2 separate regions of the Homo sapiens genome follow, and region 2 is linked to region 1. The links are contacts of gene promoters, found by promoter capture Hi-C in blood cells and fetal thymus (Javierre and others, 2016). All regions are on one chromosome and are shown on one strand. Each heading gives the region's core, a stretch centred on a gene start or on the middle of the fragment in contact. The rest is flanking DNA. Distances are from core to core; before and after follow the strand shown.

Evidence for each region. Contacts are between HindIII fragments. The CHiCAGO score rates a contact against its expected background, and 5 or more counts as called.
Region 2: a contact is called between the fragment with the promoter of CHPF here and the fragment with the promoter of WNT10A in region 1, in 1 of 17 cell types (total B cells). The highest score is 5.1, in total B cells.

Annotation. Positions count from the first base shown.
Region 1 is chr2:218,879,250-218,882,207 of GRCh38, forward strand. WNT10A (Wnt family member 10A) reads left to right here and starts at 1,603. Exons shown (of 4, transcript NM_025216.3): 1 at 1,603-1,859; 2 at 2,912-2,958. The coding sequence starts at 1,747. RefSeq lists silencers at 1,029-1,088, 1,309-1,518, 1,539-1,678. The HindIII fragment of the contact is 9,483 bases long and covers 1-2,958 here.
Region 2 is chr2:219,542,416-219,545,373 of GRCh38, forward strand. CHPF (chondroitin polymerizing factor) reads right to left here and starts at 1,394. Exons shown (of 4, transcript NM_024536.6): 1 at 810-1,394. The coding sequence starts at 1,123. It overlaps TMEM198 (transmembrane protein 198), which reads left to right and starts at 1,613. Exons shown (of 5, transcript NM_001005209.3): 1 at 1,613-1,962; 2 at 2,274-2,478. The coding sequence starts at 2,313. RefSeq lists silencers at 826-915, 926-1,635, 1,676-1,815. The HindIII fragment of the contact is 11,388 bases long and covers 1-2,958 here.

The DNA.
Region 1 (2,958 bases), core at 353-2,852:
GTTCCCCAGGGATGGGCAATTCCAGGAATGGGCCTTTTTTGTCTCTGAGCCCAGAGGCTCCCATAGTTTTGTTCCTAAGCCAGCAGGGGCTCTCTTCAGAGAGAGGGGCATGTTTGTGTAAAGGCTTGTGCCCATTTTACAGAGGAGGATGCCGAGGGCACAGGGCAGGAGCACGATCCACTATCAGGGCCCAGGCTAGCACCAGAAACAGACGGCAGAGCTGCCTTTCCCCTGCCCTCTGGCTCTCAGGCCCTTGCTTGGGCCCAGCACACTTGCACTATATCGAGGAGGGGCCCAGTGTTCAGTTGGGGTGGAGGGACAGGAAGATCTCAGCGAGAAGTAGACCTGAGCCAGGAGGCTGGTATTAGGGACCTCCTAGAGGACCATGTGCAGGTGGGGCCAGGGAGGGCCAGGACAAGACTGAGAGTATCTGCGGGCACAGGCAGGCAACACTCAGTGTTGGGGAGGCAGCTGCTGCGCTGGGAGTCAGGAGAGCTGCGTTCGGTTCTCGCTCTTCCGCTAATTTGCTGTGTGACCTCTTTGAGCCTCGATATTTTCTTGTGAAATAAAGGGGAGCTAAATAAACTATCTCAACGGCCACTTCTAGGGTTAAAAGTCTCTCTAACGCCTCCTCCCAGGACGTGCCACCCCGGGCGCTCCTACGCAAGCATTTTCTGGGGGCCTGACACTGCTGCCTCCCCGGGCTCACTGAGGAGACAAGGTGGTCCCCATGAGCCGCATTCCGCAAAGGGGCAGAGGAGGTCTCCGTGAGCAGGAGCAGGAGGCACCTGTTTAAGGTCACACAGCAAAGGGGAGAAGAAACCAGAGGCTGCCAAACTCCTCTGCAGGAGCCCACACCTGCCTCACACCAGGCAGGCCTGGGGGAAGTCCCTCCTCTGGCGGAGGAGGCGAAACACAGAGGCCAGCCCCTCCCCTCCAGCCCCTGCAGGTGTGTGTGTTGGGGTGGGATGGGGGCGCTCCCCAGCAGCTGCGTCTCTGCCAGGCACACACACCTCGCGGTAACACATATCCCCCACACAACCCAGCGCGCTCCACACACAGGCATCTTCCTGTGCACGCGCGCACAGACCCCAACACCTTTCCCTCTGTTGCCCTCAGCAGGGACGCTCCCACCCCCAGTCCCCAGCGGACGCAGTGGCCTCGGGACTCGTACACGCCTCCACGCCCCGCCGCGTGACGTCACGTGGGGTAGAGCCCTGAGACACTAAATGGCGGGGGGGTGGGGGGAGGAAAGGGAAGGCGGCAGAGCTCCCCGAGCCGGGACAGTCACTTACTCTACAGGCAGTGGGGCCCGACACAGACAGCGCCGCCCCCGCCAGCCAGCCTCGCACGCCCTCGGAAGCGCAGGCTCCCGGCGCTGCGCTGGAGGGTTCCCCGGCACCCCAGCCTCCCGTCCCCAGCCCGCTGCACCTCCGGGCCCCCCTTACCCTTGAGAGGCACCGGGAGTTGTCGCGGGGGGGCCTCGGGAAATTCCCCGGACCCCTGTGCCAGGAGGTGCCCGGTTCGCCCGCTCTTCACCCCCCGCCCCCCCCGAGGGCGGTGCCCGGGGGTGCTGCCCCATGGAGCGGGGAGGCGGGCGCCGTCTGCTCCGGGAGCCCTGACCCGAGTCGGAGCTGTGTGTCGCAGCCGCCCCGACCCCCCGCCGATCATGCGCCGGCGCCCCTGGCTCTCCAGTCCCACTGGGCTGTGAGCCCCCCACTCCCAGCCCGTCAGGGCCTGCGCGCCATGGGCAGCGCCCACCCTCGCCCCTGGCTGCGGCTCCGACCCCAGCCCCAGCCGCGGCCAGCGCTCTGGGTGCTCCTGTTCTTCCTACTGCTGCTGGCTGCTGCCATGCCCAGGTGAGCCCTCACCTCATGCTCCGCCCTCCTAGAGAGTTGGGACCCCGGCCTGCAGGGGCCTCTGATGCTCTTGCTGGGGTAGAGGACCCTGGAAGAAGGGAGGGACAGGGTCATAGGAAAGTGCTGGTGCCCAACCAAAGGCAGTGAGCTCCCTCATAGGAGGGGGTTGGACTGGTGACAGGATATGGGCAGTCCAGGGAGACAAGGCAGTGCCCAGGAGCATGATGGCAACTAGGAGGGGAGGTGTGTGTGGGGGGGGAGCAAGTGCCAGTCTGGAGTTCCTGCCCTGTTGGGGGAATGCACCCCCACCTCAGGAGTAAGCACAAGCTGCCTCACTCCTTCCTGCAGCTCAGCCCCAGGTAGGGGCAGGGGTTGGGAGGCTGGAAGGGGGTAGCCCAGGTGGGGTCAGTGAGAGACTGCAGCTGCAAGAGCTGTGTGTGTGTGTGTGTGTGTGTGTGTGTTTTCAATCGAGCCCAGGATCCCAGCAAACTGTGTTGGTAAACAGTAGTTTGTATGTGTGCCCATGTGTGCATGTGAGAGCTCATGGGTCAATGTATGTTAAGATGAACACATGTGTAAATGGGAGTGTCTTTGTGTGTGTGTCTGTAACTATGTCTGATGAAGTGTGCATGTGCGTAAGTGTGCTGGGGTTGGGTTTGTGTGTCCACCACAATGTGTGCAGAAGTGTGTCTATGTGAATGTGACTGAAACATATCTGTGGGAGTGGGCTTGTGGGGAACCCTGTGTGTATGGGCATCTATTCCTGGGGATGTGCATAGGAAATACTGTGGCCACAAGCATGGTGGATGTGTGTGCATTTGCACGCTTACCTGTGTGGGTGTGCAGCTAGCTGAGTGAGTTGCACTGGGCAGGATGATTGTGAGGAGGTCAAGGAGAGAGGAATGTGTAGGAGTGTACTGATGGGCCCAACCTTCAGAAGCAGAGGTTGGAAGAGGGAGTGATTATGGCCGTTGGGACAGAGTGTGTGTTGTTAGATGGGGCTCTCCTGGTCCCCCCAAAACACGTACCCACTCCACCCCATATGTCTGCAGGTCAGCACCCAATGACATTCTGGACCTCCGCCTCCCCCCGGAGCCCG
Region 2 (2,958 bases), core at 144-2,643, 660 kb after region 1:
GGAGAGAGATATTGTGGGTCTGACTCCGGGGTTCGCTACTTAGTAGTTATGTCCTTGAGCATGTTATTTAACCTGAGCCATCTGTAAAATGGGACTGATTATATCTGTTTAAAGCACCCAGCCAAACGCTGGACACACCATGTATCTACTCATTTCTATATAAATATGCCATTATGCCACAAATGCCTCACATAAATGACATAAAGGAACGTTTGGCATAGGGGTGTACTGAGTGTTTTTGCGGGGAGGGGCAAACTGCACTCAGGGGCTCTAGGAACTTACCTTTTGGTAAGGCAGAAGGTAAATTGCAGAACCAGCATTTGAACCCAATGTTACTTAGAAGTTATTTCAACTCATCAGCAGAGACATTAATGAGATAGGTACATTCCTCCCTCCCCCATCTCACCCTGAGGTGGCCCTTGTAACCCACTCAGGAACAAGAGATCCAGGTAAATCCTAGTTCTCTCCTTTCTCTTCCCCTGTCTCTATACACTCACCCTATATATAAGTCATTTCTCTAACACCAGCAGCCCAGCCAGGGAGCTAGTAGGATCTCTGGGGCGCCATCGGGTCGAGCCGGTTTAGGACACAGTCCAGTAAGTTCAGCCCAGGCCGGGATAGGGCCCAGAGAAAGTCTCGGACTGGCCCCACGGCTCTCGGGAAGGCAGGGCCATCGGAAGTTATCGGGGCCCAAAGACTTCCTGGCTCGCCAGCCCCTTCCTTCCGGAGCCTGACCCGGGCCCGGGCGACCTCCCCGCGCGCTTCCCGGCCGCTGCCCAGGGGGTAGAGCGGGCGCAGCCGATCACTACCTGACGGCCTTTTTGGCGGCCTGGCCGGGCTGTGCAGGGTGGTAGGGCAAGACGCGCGGCTCCCAATTCTCCCCGGCGCCTTCGCCGGCCCCGGGCTTCTCGCGCTCCGCTCCGGGCTGCACCGAGTTGGGCCGGCGCGCCGCGTTGGTGTTGCCGCGCGGCGGCAGCTCAGAGTCTCCAGGTTGGGGCGGGCCTGGGCCGCACGGCTCCTCCACCCAGGTGACGCTGAGCAGGCTCAGGGTGAAGCCCAGGGAGATGCCCACGGCCACGGGCCCTGCGGGCCGCAGCACCGACAGCAGCAGCGATGCCCGCATGGCGCCCGGACCGCGGGTCCCCGGCCCCGGCGAACCCCCAGAGCAGCCAGAGGAGTCTCCGAGGGGGCGGGACCGGGGAGGGGGCGGATCCGGAGGGCTCGGGCCCCGCGGGCGGGCCCGCTCCCTCCCCGCAGAGCAGAGCCAGCGGCCCGAGCCGAATCCCCGGAGCCGCGCCTCGATTCCCCTCCAGCAGCTGCTCTGGGCTGCGCAGGGTTCTTGCGCTCGGCACTGGAGCCTCAGCCGCGGCCGCAGCTGTCCGACGTGTCACTGCAAGGGCCCCGCCCCCGGGGTGGGGTCTCGGGCTCTCGCTACCGGAGAGGGAGGAGAAGGGGGAGGTTAAAGGGGAAGGACCCCCGGAAGTGCCCCCTCCTCAGTGCGGGAGAGGGAGACGCCGGGGGCGGAGTCCCCTGCCTCCCGCGGCGTGGTTGGTGCGTCCCATGTGACGTCAGAAGCAGCCCGCCCCTGCCTGGATGGTGCGCCCTGAGTGACGTCAGGAGCAGAGGCCGGAGCTGTCCATCAGCACCAAAGGCCGCGGGCGGGCTCAGGGCATGGGGCCGCGGTTCTGGGGCGGCCCGAGCCCCGGCTCCTGCGCCTTCCCCTTCCTCAGGCCCAGCCCGAGTTCCCGGACGCCGCGGGACTGGAGTGCCAGCCGGTGTTGGACGTGGAGCGGCGCCGCCACCGCGCCGACACCATTCTCTCCGGCCCAGCAGCCCCCTTCCTCGCACGACGGACTTTCCCTGGACCCCAGTCAGTTGGAGCCTCTGGCGCCCCGCAACCCCGGCCCCTCGGGCCTCTGCACAGCCTCTTTCACTCAGAAGCTCAGGTCGCCTCCAGCCCAGGTAAATCTTGGACAATCCCATATTGAGCCGCCCACAGATGAATCTCTTGGCTGCCTCCTTCTCACTGGCAGCACGCTCCCTTCATCCCCCCGACTCCCGTCCCTCTTTTAACTTCATCCCAGCCTCCACTAGCCAGGCACTTTTGTTTCCCTTTGTCTTTGCTCCCCACTCCAGAGATGCTTCCGGAGCTGCACAAATGTGGATACTATTCCTTTGTCCACTGTCCTTGCTGAGTTCTCCCAATCCCTCTCCCACCCCCATCCTGGTGGGGACCCAGGACTCCTCCGTGACCCCAACTTTCCCTCTGTCAGGTTAACTTGGGAGGGTGACTCCCTTCTATTCCCAGCACTATGCCGGGGACTGTGGCAACACTGCGGTTCCAGCTGCTGCCCCCTGAGCCAGATGATGCCTTCTGGGGTGCACCTTGTGAACAGCCCCTGGAGCGCAGGTACCAGGCACTGCCGGCCCTCGTCTGCATCATGTGCTGTTTGTTTGGAGTCGTCTACTGCTTCTTCGGTGAGATCCCCATCTCATCCCTCACCTGGGCTCCCCAGTGTTTCCCCGAGTTCTTTTTCTGGGCCCCCAAGTCTTCTCTGAATCCCTCTACCATCATGAATAATTCTTCCTTTTCTTTCATCCCACACATTTATAGATTGTCTAGACTCTAGATTATAGGAAAAACAGGTTTTTGGATTAGGCACACCTGAGTGTGAATTTACTTAGCTTTGCAGTTACTAATTGTGATGTCTTGGGCACATTAATCTGTCTGAGCCTCAGTTTTCTCATCTGAACAATGATCACAATATTTGTCTCATGTAGTGTTGTAAGAATTAGTAAGCATTCAATAAATTGTAGCTATTGTGAGGATGTGTTTGGCTAACTGTGCTAGGTAGCCACTGAAAACACTTAGCAGGGTTATTACACATGGTCCCTTACCACAGGGCATATTGTCTGACAGGGAGGAGACTCCCTGGAGCATTTACACCTGGGATACAT